2 separate regions of the Homo sapiens genome follow, and region 1 is linked to region 2. Evidence: promoter capture Hi-C in 16 types of primary human blood cells and fetal thymus (Javierre and others, 2016). All regions are on one chromosome and are shown on one strand. Each heading gives the region's core, a stretch centred on a gene start or on the middle of the fragment in contact. The rest is flanking DNA. Distances are from core to core; before and after follow the strand shown. Region 1 has its middle 92 kb from the start of DDIT4L-AS1. Region 2 holds the start of SLC9B1 (solute carrier family 9 member B1).

Region 1 (6,791 bases), core at 1,319-3,818, 2.9 Mb before region 2:
TGACCCAGGTAAGACCACAGCACTGGTCAATTAGGATCCGCAATCCAGGCTATGCTCTCAGTATCCTTCAGCCTTCTGGTTTTACTGTGAGGGCTCTCACAAAGGAATCTACTCATTGTTTTACCTGAAGCTTTTAAAGTACATAACCAAATCCAAACCTATAAAGGTGAAATAGCACTTTTCTAGATAATAAAATTAAAGCCTGAATGTAATCAAGCAAATGCTTATTAGGGATATTTTGTCCACCAGGTGCTATGTCTAATGCAGGTTCTGTTGAGGGCCTCATGTGCTTAATTCAGAGTAAAAACAAACAAACAAACAAAAAACACTAATGTTAGGGCAAATGTATTATTTTGACCAGAATGACATAGATTGGCTGTGTCCACATCAACTAAATAAAGTGAGCAATTATCTGATGAATTGCTGCTGAAGAGAAACACTTGATTCTTTACCACATTACCAAAAGGGTAGATTGACAAATAAAGAAGAATGTATCAGGCTTGAAGGTTGGCCAAAAATTGCCAGTCAATACTCTGGAAGTTTAGCAACAGGGAAATATCATAAGGGTTTATTTGAATCAGCCCTGTCACAGTGCCCAACCCAGTGCCTGGTGTAGTGTAGGCTCTCCGTGAAGGCAGAATCAACGTTGAATGATGTTTTTAAAAATGTTTATAGGCCCACTGTGAACATCCCAGTCTCCCTTCAGCTGAAGTCACTTTATGTTGACTCAAAACAATCTGCCCTCCAAACGAAAGTGTAAAATAAGAAACCAAGGCTTAGACGCTTCAAACACCAAAGCACCCTCTTCTTATATTCCTCCTAATTGTTAGTAGAGTAAGGTGTTTGGCTATTATTAGTCTCCCAGTGCTTACGTATTTGCTGGAAATATGCCTCATCCTCATGTATTACACCTTCTGCATAATCTAGTTTTATCATGTAGAAATTCCAAGGATTTATGAAGGTGAAATGACTCTGAAGTCCCTTGGATGAGGCTTATTAAGTGGCCCATTTCTTCTGAAATTCAGGGAGCTGAACTACAGCAAGGATGGATTGCCAAAATACATATTATGTAATTTTAAGTCACTTGCGCATGACTAAAACCTTAACCATGGTCAACGTAGGAGAAAATGATAATGATGTAATTTATTTGTGCTCACGTTACCATCTCCCCACCCAACAGTGCCTTAAAATAGATACAACGGATAAACTAGTAGAACCCTTTTTAAAAACATCAATGGCCACTTTCAAAGGAAAACAAAGTAAGGAAAGGAAAAAGAAGATCTGAAAAGGAACATTCAAAGGTGGGGTCTTAATTTCATCTGTGCTCATGGGAGACAGGGGGTGACATCATTTGGTAGAGAAGATGTCTGAAAATTCAGCCTCTTGAAAAGAACAATGTCAATCTATTCTCACTTTTAAAATTTGAAAAAGAGGAATGGTAATAACAACATTTACCATTTATTGAGCCTTCTTATGTGCCAGGTTCTAACCCGAACTGAAATCTAAAATAATTTCTCTTGAATCCTTAGAAGTTTGATGTTATTATCCTGATGTGTATGAGGAAAAAACTTAAAGAAGTTAGTATTTGCCTACCCTCCTACAGCTCATGAGTTTTGATGGTTTCTTGAGTTGTTGGGAAGATTTGCTAACACTGGTGGTCTCACTGTGCTTTTTCACTGGGGCATATGGTTATGGGTTAAAGAGTGGTGGCCTTGGCTTAGGGTTAACAAAAGTAATATTAATAGTAGCTGCAAGTTATTGAGTGTCCACTGTGAGCCAGTCTCTTCACGCTTATCATCTCTTAATTTTCACCAAATTATCTGCAAGGAAAGTTTTATCTTTTAATTTTCACAGAGGAAAGAAAGTTGACTGAGGAAACTGAGGTTTATGTTGCAAGAAAGTGATGAAACCAGGATCAAAGCCAGCTTTGCCTGTGTTCTTTCCACCTTCCAGTCCCCGCTGTCCTGTGAGGATAATTAGCAAACGCAGACGTGCTCGCTCGCACAGAACACGCTCCCTCTGGTGGAAGTCAGAGAGGTACACAATGAGGCCCTTGTATGAGTCAACCCTTTCTGGGTTTCAGGAGAATCTGACCTTGTTTCTTACTTTGTCATCTCCTGTTGCTTAGCTAGAGACCCTAAATATGCATCTTCTATTTGTGACTCTGTTTTTCTGTTTTGCTTATTATTATTAAAAATAGCTGACAAAACAAACAGTAGGGCAACTTACAAAATATGAATGAATGACACATACCCACAGTCTCTCCTTTTTTTTTGTTTTATTTTGTTTTCTTTCCCACTTTAGACACTTTGGGTGGTTAGCAAAATCTACCAGAATATATCTTACTTGTTTTCAGGATCTGTCAGAAAATTGTTATGTTGTCTTGGATCCTGAGCCTGCTGTTTTGCCCACACCCTTGTTTGGCATGAGGTGAGACTAGGAATAAGAGAATAAACAGTTGCTTGTACAACATTTTCATAGAGAGGAAGTTATTATATGACACCCAAGCAGAGAAACTCTTCTTCTTAATCCAGGATGACTGAGGAGGCCAGAGCTCTCCTTTTTGCTCTGGAACCATGAGCCTGCATTCCCTCGCTGCCTTTGGCACCTTGGCTTTCTACCTTCATGTTCTGAATATGTTGTGTTTTTCTCTCCCATTATGCTGTAAACTTGGCAATAGTGGGGACCGAGTTCCCTAACTGATTTTATCCTGTTTCTAGTAGTAAAAGGTTTTCAGTCAGGCTTGGTGGAAACAAATATAAAGAAGATAAATAGATTGGATATGAGTTCAAGTACCTGACAAGGAATTTGGACATTCTTTTATAGTCCAGTAGTTCTTAAACTTTTTTTTTTCCTAGGCCAGCGCCTGGGGATGTGATACACTCTGACCAGTGATTATTATCCTCTTTTCTTGAGTGCATGTGAGTGTGTTTTGTGGGGAGGGGAGAAGAGCAGGCACAGGCAGCCATCTAGTAAAAAGTTCCAATGAGAGGCATCTAGTTTTTGAAAAAAAAAAAAAAAAAAAGAAAAGAAAGAAAAAAAAAATCCCTTCATGGCATGTGAAAACCATCCTCCCAGCCCTGACCAGGGCGGTGGAGAGAGTGAAGAGCCACTGAAGTTTTTGAGTGGGAACATGGGAAGATGAGACGTATTTTTGGAATACCATTGTTCAGGTGTACTGGGCTCGGAGTGGGCATGAACTCAGAGATAGGAGGAAACTATAGTCCCTTTATTTTAATGCTGTGAAAATCTGAGCTATATTGTGGATAAGGAGCTGAAGAGGAGGGGTGAATGTGAGACATACAATGAAGGAATAATTGATAAGGGGAAGAAAGGAAGAATCATTACTACCTTTAGAGAATCTGAGCTTCCCTGATGGGGATAGAGTGATTCCATTAATAGTTACAGGGTAGTAAAATGGAAAAGCCAGGGCAGAAGACGTTTTCACTTTCTTAAGTTGACATCGGTTAGAATTAACTCTTGTTTAATTTTCATATTTGTAAATAGTTTTGTAGTCAAGCATTCCTCCTTACAAATATTTATTTTGTTGGAGGATGTTTAGTTTGCTAGGTACAAATAATTTGATGGCACAACTGTTTTTGCATGTTTCATCCTCTCTGAATTAAGACTCTTTATTTTTCATGAAATCTTTATTGATGCTAACATGTGAGAGTGAATACTTACAGAAATATGTGTGAGTGATGACAGTTTGAACAGATGGAATTAGTCAAATTCTCTTAAGTTCAGATTCATGTCTATAGATCAGTTTCTACAATCCAGATCATAGTCCTTTCTTTTATGGGGAAAATATCCCATGGCTTAATGGGGCAGATACTCTTCAAAGATAGCTGTCAAATCCTCTCCTTTCTTTATGCATGTGCAGCTTTTTTCTATCAGGAGGTGGGTTCTATCTCTCTTTTTCTGAATCTCGACAGGCTTTGTGACAGGCTTTAACCAATAGGAGGTGGCAGAAGTGAAGCTCTGCTGCTTCAGGGCCTTGCCATTAAGAGGCTTGGCAGAGTCTGCTTTTGCTGTCTTGGATCTCGTCCTCGATGCCGTAAGGAAATCTAGGCCATCCTGCTGAAGAGGAAGGTCATGAGGAAAAGCTCTTGAAGATGGGAAATCACGGAGAAAGAGACGGCGTGTGAGGGAGAACCAAAATGCCCCAGCTAAGAGCCAGCACCACAACTGGAGACATGCTCAGCCCCTCCACCTGCTGAGTGCACCACACAGAGCAGACACAATCCAAGCAATAATTAATCACTGTTTGCATCATTAAGTGTTAGGTTGGTTTGTACATATTGGTTAACTTACTTACTTATCTACTTAAAATTCCTTTTTATCATGTAATGATTAAAAGAGAAAAAAATGTAGGTTACAATGCATGATAATAAAACAAGACTTATGTGAACTCCCCAAGTGAGAACTAGAATATTTACAAAACTATTGAAGCTAAACCTGTGGCCCAATCAGAGATAATCACCTGATAATCAATTTGGCTATCCCCTTGCTTAAAAAAAAAGCATCGTCATTTATCTGTCACCAAATAACATAGCAATTAATTGAAGCAGGAATCTTTGGAGAAAGCTGTGTTCTGAGCCCTATCTCTTTGCTAATCTCTGAAAGGGAGGATATATGGGGATTATAGCTTAACTTCAAGACTTGAAAAAGAGATTTCAAGTGGATGACTCAGAGAGCTCTGCCTGTGCCCCCTGCCTCTGGGAGTTGAGTGGACAGAGATGGACTGGCTAACTGCTTTCTTTGGTGGCATAGCCAGGCGAGTTTCTGTTGCTGAGGTATTAGCCTGCATTCCCAAGGTTTATCAAAGAAAAGGTAGTGCTAGAGTTTTTCATGGACCATGGGCATTGAGAGAGAGAGAGAAGTTTTTAGTTGTGACCAGTATGAGCATCCAGAGAGCCAAAGAGACCCCAGCAGCAAGAAACCAAGTTCTGAGGTTCTCAAGGGTTGGTGAAGGAAAATTAAATAATAACCCAAAAGAGAGACTCACAAGCTTAGTTAGAATAACTGCAGGACAGAGGGCCCCAATGATACAAATCTCTGAAAAGCCCAGGAGAGCCCCCACAAGATAGTTTTCTTTAAACACCTGCCAGGTCCAGAAGGCCCAAAGACAACTCATGATCATACTAGTCCAAGTCACACATTTCTTACACTCTTTCATCTCCTCTCTCTGTTCAAAGACAGAGGAGATGAGCAGACCCTCTTGCTGCTCAAAGTGTGGTCCCAGGACCAGTAGTAAGAGCATCACTTTAGGGCTTCTTAGAAATGCTGAAACTCAGGCCCCACCCAGATCTATTGAATCATCTGCATTTTAACAAGATCTCCAAGTGATCTGAATATGCATTAGGGTCTGAGGAGTATGGAAAACCCAAGTTGGTGTTCACAAATTGGTAGACGTGCAGTGGGGAAAGCTTCCTGGGAATGAGAAAAATCAACACTTGAAACAGAGGAAAGCCTTTCTCATTAAACAAATCTTAGAGGGAAAGTGGGCAATGAAAGTAAAGTTGCATTTCATTTACATCCCTCATGTTGTGTGTGTTCTAAATATCAAGCATAGCCATTTGATAAAGGCTAGTTTATTTCTTCCCTTTTTGACTTTTATAATAGTTGTTTCTCAAACTGTAGTCTGCTTCAGAATCTCCTGGGCTACCTGAGCTTCAGAGCTAATGACTTGGACTTTGGACTCCACCTGTTTTGGTTTATTTTTGTTTTTTTTAGAGAAAGAGTCACGCTCTGTCACCTAGGCTGATATGTAGTGGCATGACCTTGGCTCACTGCAGCCTTAAACTCCTGGGCTTAAGCAATCCTCCTGCCTAGGCCTCTCAAAGTGCTGTGATTATAGGCATCAGCTGCTACTCCAGTCCTCATCTGCAGTTTCTATAAGCATCCTAGGTAATTCTTATATACATTAACACTTAGGATGACTGATCTAGCACTCGCTGGGTCCCTAGACTTTGTCCTGTGGCTGCCATTTCTTTCTCACCCTATGTTCCTGTATTATTACTCTAAAGCTGGTCACATCAAAACCATGGGAGAGGGGAAGATCAGCAATGAGAGGAAGGGAGGGTAAATTCCATACTGTTGCTGAATGAAGACCATTACCCTCAATCTTTTCCCAGCTTCTGCTCTCTTGCTTTGTGTATACATAATCCCATCTTTCTGTCCTAGCCCACCTGAGTTCCCTGTCTTCTAACCCTCTGATAGCCTTAACACACACTAGGAAGCACAACCTGAAAATGGGGTAAATCCACTTGCCCTGCAGCAGTTTTGGGGATTGGGAGGACCAGCTCTCCCTGCCAGGGCTGTATTTATAGGTGGAGGTGTGTTCTCAAGCCTAGCTTGGAATGCCAAATGAATTTTGTTACAGAACCTAATGGAGTGTTATTACTTACACTTTAGATCAGAACTGTGGACTGGTCTGAGAAAATGGCCAATATTAGCAATGGTTTTTAGTGAAAAATCTATCAATTTGACTTACGAATTTGGGAGACTTTAACCCATTTTCAAACAGGGAACTGCTTCTGATACTGTGTCAAAGCTTGCAGAAGTTAAGGTGAATCTGTTCATTCACAGCCTCCTTGGGATATGATAACGTCTTTCTAAACAGAAGAAACTTAGCGACATCTCAGTAACACCTAAAGATGCCTCAGTCATTGGCATATGGCCACTCTGAATATGATATGGTGTTAAATTCACCAGAAAGACCAGCTTGTCCTAAAAAGTATATTTGTGGTTCTGAATGCAACTCTCATTTGTAAAAAGGATTCCAGAAT
Region 2 (7,676 bases), core at 4,031-6,530:
AAATATTCATTGAGAGCCCATTATATTACAGATACTGTATTCTCCTCTGTATACAGAATGTGGTAAATATAGAGTATTGTAGAAGCACGTTTAGGATGTGAGAGAAGTCCAAGAAATGCTTTTTAGTGACTTGTGTTCCCATCTATTTCCCTACTAAATTAAACCAGAGACAGTTTCATAATCATTTCTGAGTTATTTGAATTGCCTAACATAGTATATAGTAGATAAATATTTTATACCATCAATTATTGGATTTTAAATACATACTAAATATTCTTTGCATTGTAAGAGGCCACCAGCCAGCCAATACTTTCTACCCAGCAACTTTTTCTTTGATATCACTTTGCATACAATAGAGTGTAAAAAGCAAAGAGACAAACTAATATAGTGGAAAATATGGGACTTAGAGTCAGAACACTGTGATTAATAATTCTGCCACTTACTAGGTATATGTCCTTCGTCAAGACCCTTAACCTCTCTGAGTCTCAATTTCCTCATCTGAAAAAGGCCATTAGGAGAATGAAATGAGATAAAGAGAAAATAAAAGCATAAAATGTAAGAGGTTATCCAAAATGATGTCTATTATTATTATTGTTATTAAAGTCAATGCAGATCAAGTCTCCTTATGACTGGTTATCCCAGCTCTGTAAGGCTACAAGATTTTCAAAGTTCATTCTTCATCTTCCCTTTACCATCCAAGAGATAATCTTTTGTACTTTAATAAACACATATTGATGGAAATGGTTAAAAATCACAAAGAAAAACAAGCCCAAAATTGAATAAGTATACATTAATGTATGAAAGGGACAAGACAAAAGTACCAGCCTATGACAGTTTATAATTTGAATGTATGGACCAAAAAAAAAAAAAAAAAAATCAGGCCACAATTTTTTTTAATGTTGACCAGAAGGGTAGGTAGGTGGCACAAAAGAGTAATGCTGTGAACTGTTTCACAGTAAAATGGTAACCCATTGACCTAGAAAGTCAAGATATCTGGGCTCAAATACTAATTTAGCTACTAATTCAACCACTAATACCCAGGTGGTCTACCCACCCAACACTCTAGTCTTTCAGTTCCTTGATCTCCTTAGCTCCTATTGTCTTTTTCTTTCACTGTATCTCAGCCACTCACTCACAGGGCCACAAATCTCAAATGGCCACTCAACTTTGCCCAGCTGTGCTATTATTCTGATTGCTTTCCATCCTCCAAATGACTATTTTGTATCTTATCTTCTCCCCTTAAACCTCCTACCCAAATATTCCTCCTCACTCTTTACTAATCTTGCGTCATACCTTATCTTCATTGAGAAAAAGTATCAGTATCAGGCCGAAGGTCTCACCTCTGACCACTGAATCTACCCATCTATCTGCATCTCTACCCATACTTGCTGTCTTTCTTCTTACCAGAAATTATACGTTCATGTGGTTGGGTGCGGTGGCTCACACCTGTAATCCCAGCACTGTGGGAGGCCGAGGCAGGTGAATCACCTGAGGTCAGGAGTTCAAGACCAGCCTGGCCATGGTAAAACCCTATCTCTACCAAAAATACAAAAAATTAGCCAGGCATGGTGTGTTGGTGTGCGCCTGTAATCCCAGCTACTCAGGAAGCTGAGGCAGGAGAATCGCTTGAACCCGGGAGGCAGAGGTTGCAGTGAGCTGAGATTGCTCCATTGCACTGTAGCCTGGACAACAAGAGCCAAACTCTGTCTCAAAAAAAAAAAAAAAAAAAGGAAAGTATATGTTTATATGTTCATGTTCCTACCTAAGGCCAATACTTCTATATATTCCCTGGATTCCATACCCTCTCATTTTCTCAAAGACTTCACTCCTAAAATATACACACTCTCTCTTATACCATCATTTCCACCCCCCTCTATTGGATTATTCTCAGTCTAAATATGCTTAAGTGTCCTTATCTTTAAGAACCCTTCTTTGACCATACATATTTCTCTATTACCTCCATTTCTTGGCTCTCTTTCATAGTAAAACATCTTGAGATGTCTATAGTACTACGTCAATTTCTGCCCAGCCAGCAGTACTATGTCAATTTCTTGACACCACATTTTCTCTTTATTGTACTAGTCAAGGCATATAACTACTTAATGTTTCCAAAACCCAATGCACAGATCTCTTTATTTTATTTGACTTCTAAGCATGATTCAGTACTGTTGGCCATGTTTTGTAGTCTTGGCTTTTTTTTTTTTTTTTTTTAATTGAGATGGGGTTTCTCCATGTTGGTCAGGCTGGTCTGGAACTCCCGTCCTCAGGTGATCCACCCACCTTAGCCTCCCAAAGTACTGGGATTACAGGCATGAGCCACCATGCCCGGCCAGTCTCGGCTTTTATGTCACTGCACTCTTCAGATTTTCTTCCTACTTCATTGGCTATTCTTCCATCTCTTTTGTTGGCTTCTTTTCCTCTGCTTTACACTAGTCACTGCAATGTTATCGGTGAGCACACTTGCCCTAGGTAGTTTTCCATATGCTGGTGACTCCCAACTTTGCATCTTTGGTTCCTTGCACTCTGCACAGAGCTGAAGCCTCAAATTACCTTTGATTTCTAATAAGAATGTAAAAATTAAGGTAAGCAAAATAAAACTCCCCCCTCCCACCGCCCTGGCTGCTCCTTTTTCTTCCTTAGTCTTTTCCATTTGGTAAATGGCACAATCATCCACACAAGCTCAAGACAAAAATTTAGGGGCTAGAGGTGACTCCTTTTTCATCACCTCTATATTCAAAACATCACAAAATCTGTAGGCTCTGCCCCCAAAATAGAGCTCACATACATCTACTTCTCTGCTATTTTATCCCAAACTTGTCATTCCTCTTTGGATTTCTGCAATTATCTTCTGCTATAGATCTTGCTCCCCACCCAGTATGATTCAGTCATCACATAATAGGCAGAACAAACCTTTTTACAATGTAAATCAGATCCTATCACTCCCTCCAACTCACTACTGGTTTCTCTTTACACTTTAAATAAATTCCAAACTTATTCCATGGGTAGATTTCCATGGCCTATTCAAAGCCTTACATGATTTGGCCCCTACCTATCCCTCCAAGCTCATCCTGTACCACTTTCTCTACATTTTAGCTTCAGTGGTCTTGATGATGTTCCTGGAAGGAGCCAAGTTCTTTCCTTCCTTAGGGCTCTTGCAATTGGAGTTGCCTTTACCTGTAGTGCGCTGATCCCAAATATTTCCATGGTTGGTTTTTAAAAATATCACTAAGCAATCAATCTAAACTAACCCCTCCCCCAGTCTTAAGGAAGACCTTTACAGTTTTACTTCTTCACTGTGCTTACTATTATCCAAAATTCCTTGCTCATATAGTTTACCTATTTTCTATCTTACACTCACTAGAATTTAAACTTCATAAGAACAGCGATCTTGCTAGTCTTTCTTACCATTGTATTCACAATGCCTAAAACAACGCCTGACAAAGTAGGATATTCTTTAAAAAATACTTAATGAATGCCTTTCCCTAAGCAAGTCACTTGACTTCTCTACTTAACTCACACTGGTGAGTTTACTACTGCTAGACTAAGCTCTGGATCCAGGAAAAACAAAAGTGGCTAAGGTATGGCTTCTTCAGAAGCTCATCCATTCATTCCCTCAAAAAATATTTATTGAACATATATTACACTATGTTCCAGGTACTATTCAATCTCAGTGTTTAGTAAACACCACAGTAACATGGGATTTGGTTAACCAACAGAAGTGTTTAAACAGGATGAGTACAAAAATAAGTACAAAATGAGAAGTACTATAAAAACGATACTTTATATGTTACAACTATAGCACCCACCTATTTCCTTGTGTCTAGTAATTGGCAGGACCTTATGACAAGAGCCAACTGAAAAACAGCAGTATAAATTCTGGTACTCTAAAAGCCCAGACTTCACCACTGTGCAATATATCCACACAACAAAACTGAACTTGTACTAACTAAATCTGTATAGAATTTTAAAAAGTAAGTTAAAAAAAATTCTGGTACTCACAGGGGACAATACCTATGAATGCCCTTTTCATAGGCACACAGTGACTAAAATATTTGGGGCATGAATTCTCTAGGGGTGACAATAATAAGTGTCATTTTTCATGCTTCTGTTGCACACATAATTATATTTATCTCTAAGGAAAATCAGAGAGTGGGGTGTGGCCTCCCTCAGTGCCACCTGGGCCAGTTGTCTCCCCACATCACCAAATCTGTTATTTCACAGGCTCTAGGACACCCATAGAGGGGGAGTGAGGGACCTGGTATGGTCCCGTGAAGAGCTCTTGTAACACTACTGATTGATGTGACAGACACAGTATGTGTGCAACTTTCCTTTTTCCTTCAAAAGCACTGGTCTAAAGCAGGGATCCCCAACCCCTGGGCAGCAGACAGGTACAGGTTTGTGGCCTATTAGGAACAGGCCACACAGCAGGTGAGCAGGGCTAGAGGATTATGCCTGAGCTCCAGCTCCTGTCAGATGAGCAAAGGCATTAGATTCTCATAGGAGCACAGACCTGATTATGAACTGCGCATGTGAGGGATCTAAATTGCGCCTTCTCAAGAGAATCTAATGCCTGATGATCTGAGATAGAAGAGTGTCATCCCATCTTGCCCCCCACCCCAAACTGTCTTCCATGAAACTGATCCCTGGTGCCAAAAAGGTTGGGGACTGCTGGAAGTGCTTGTCCCCTGGGTTAAAGCCAAGAGGAGTAAACAGGATTAAGGGGCGTGGATGTGGGTGGGTGGGGGAAGAGAGCTTTCTCAGGATCGGCAACCAATCCCAGAATCTCCAGTCGCAGGAGCATGTATGTGAAGGTTTATTTGCAGGGATCCACCGTTTGTAAAATAGTACACGCTTAATAAAATTAATTTTGAGGTCAATCTTAACTGACAGATCTCTTCTTTCTTACTGGCGAGTATTTGTAAAATAAGAAAAACAGGAGGAAAAGAGAACAAACAAGAGAGATGTGGGATGACGGAGTAAGGAAAGGAGTCACGGAGAGGAGAGACAATGTCTGTGGCTGTTCCCTCAGCGTCTGGGAGAAGAGCCCAAGAATCCCATTGAACTGAGGGGGAGGAAAGGCCCTCCTGCGGCCTACCGCAAGGAAACGATCGCGGCAGACCCGGGACTAGCGCCAAAGGGCTTGGAAGGGCGGCGTTAAGAAAAATGGGCCGTACCTACAACTTCTTTCGCAGCCCTCGCTGGCCCGGGAGCGGCCCAGGAGCCCAGTGACCGTTGCGTAAGCCACGCGCCACCCAGGTGGGCAGGGTGGTGACGCGAAAGCCCGGATAGACTTCCGCGCAGGGGCGGGGCGGGGCGAGGAGGCGGCAGCGCGTTTAAGTGACGTCTTGGCTGTCCGCGCCGGCAGAGGCGAGGGTTCTGGGGTTTCTGGGACTGTCTGGTGTGTTTTCTGTCTATTGAACCCTTTCCTTTCGACGTCTCTTCTGAATATTGACTCATCGGGTTGTAGAAATCCAGGGACAGAGTTGACATCACTGGGCATTTTAGCCAAAAAGCAGTGCTCGGGACTGCATGTGCCAGAAGTAAACTTGTCAAAACTCAGATTGTGTTTCCCCTAAAGTCAGCTTAAAGTGCAATGGTAGAAGAGCACGGTCTCTCCCCAAGACGGCCTGAGCTTAAACTGCAGCGCTGTCACTTGCTAGCTATGGGACCTAGGCAAATACATCGTCTCCCTGAGGTTGTCTTCTCATCTGTAAAGGACGCTGTGGTGGTGGTGTGAGAATAAATGAGACATGGCAAGTGTCTGGAACAAAGACGCTGTGTACAAAGTAAACACTTAATATACTGTTATCAGTATAAAACCTTTGTGAGTTTTTTTTTTTTTTCCGCATGAAATCTTATGTGGAAAGTTGTATGTGAAAGAAATGAAAGCGGAGCTGCGTTGATGGTGGGCCCAGAAGCTTTGGCCTTTCAGTCCCAAAGTTTCCAGTAATAGAATCCGCGCTTCCTATAAAAGACAAAAACAACTGTTATTGGAGAAAGTGTAAACTTCTTAGAAAGACAAACTGCCCTTTCCTATCTAATGTTTCTCCTGACACTCAATGTTTACTCTTGAACACTGTATTCCTTTTTGCCTCAGTGCGTTCTGTAAAGTTAATTCCTCTACCGGAGTGTTCTTTTTCTTAGTCATCATCTAAGATCTGATCCAAATTACCGTTCCTTCTTGGGTAACTTAAATACGAAATTATCTTTTTATTGGTTTTGTTGACGTTGTTGAGACAGGGTCTCACTCTATTACCCCGGCTGGAGTGCAGTGCGATCTAGGCTCCCTGCAGCCTCCTCCTCCTTGGTTCAAGCGATCCTCCTGCCTCCTGAGTAGCTGGGACTACAGGTGGGCACCACTACCCCCGGCTAATTTTTGTATTTTTAGTAGAGAGGAGTTTCACATATTGCCCAGGAGGACTTGAACTCCTGGACTTAAGTGATCTGCCCGTCTTGGCTTCCCACAGTACTGGGATTACAAGCGTGAGCCACCACAGCCCTGCCCTTTTTATTGTTTTTAACACCTTCCCTCCTTCAACGTGTTATAGACATCTCAGCAAGGATTTATTTTTCTTCCTCGTTTCAGGAGAGTAGACAGGGTTTCATGATTATAGGGTTAAGGAAATGTTTTGTACTCATGAAAAGGAAATGTTTTGTACTCACAGGAAAAGCAGGTAGATCCCTAAAGATAATGGGAGTTGGGACAAATGGTAAACCTGGGAAGGAAGACCTTTGCTAGGAGTCTGTTTGCCTCCAAGGCACTACTCTTATGCTCTAGAAGGAATGGGCTCCTGGAGAGGTAAGTGCTTTAGGGTCCATGTAAGGAAGATGGAGCGCACATCAACAAATGGAGTTTTGGAATTCTCACCAGGCCAGAGGGCTCAGGCTGGATTTGAGTCAGTCAACTATAAATATAATATTACGTACTCCCCAAATGCCATGAAGCAATTCCCACTTGTTACAGAGAGGTACATAAATGATTCATATAAAAATATAATGTTCTGAGACATTAAAAAAATACAGTGGTTCTTTGGGAGACAATATAATGAAAATTTACTAATAAAAAACATTTAAACAATCATCTGATAACCTTTCTTATAAAAATTAAGTTTTAAAAATAAGTAAATTGATTATATTTGCAACAAAGTCATGGAAAGCAAAAGCTTTTGAGGAATAAGGAGAATCTTAACTGAGAGCAATTTTTTAAAACTATACATGACATGATAAAAAAAGTTTTAACACTTTCTACATAGTTTCATACTTCTGAAAGTACTTCAATAAAAATATTTAGCCAATGATCTATTTAGTATGATTTCAGTGCCAACTTTCTTTTCTAGTCTTATCTCTAATTCTCTTCATCAATCTCAAGTGCCAATCACTTTCTATGCTCCAGGCTTTACTGTTTTCAAAACTTTGCTAATATGCCAGCCTCCCACACTAGTTGTTCCCATCTTCACCTTACTCCCTAATATTACCCCATCCATCCAGATCCTCTCCATTCTTGAAGGTCTAGTTCAAGTATCAGTTCCTCTAAGATTTCCTCAACTTCTACACTAAAAACACTTTTGAATTATTCACTTGGATTATAGCTATTTGTACATATCTTATTTCCTTCTAAGGTTCTTAAAGGCAAGTATCATGTCTTATTCATATTTGTATTCCTCACATTGTCAATT

Evidence for each region. Contacts are between HindIII fragments. The CHiCAGO score rates a contact against its expected background, and 5 or more counts as called.
Region 1: a fragment that was not itself captured here is called in contact with the fragment with the promoter of SLC9B1 in region 2 in 1 of 17 cell types (naive CD8 T cells); the score reaches 5.5 in naive CD8 T cells.

What each region holds. Positions count from the first base shown.
Region 1 is chr4:100,094,185-100,100,975 of GRCh38, forward strand. No RefSeq gene overlaps it. Among named protein-coding and RNA genes, the nearest start is that of DDIT4L-AS1, 92 kb to the right of the region's middle. The HindIII fragment of the contact is 4,881 bases long and covers 129-5,009 here.
Region 2 is chr4:103,014,425-103,022,100 of GRCh38, forward strand. It overlaps SLC9B1 (solute carrier family 9 member B1), which reads right to left and starts at 5,281. Exons shown (of 12, transcript NM_139173.4): 1 at 5,175-5,281. It also overlaps a transcript of SLC9B2 not described here. RefSeq lists an enhancer at 5,122-5,622. The HindIII fragment of the contact is 6,332 bases long and covers 1-5,916 here.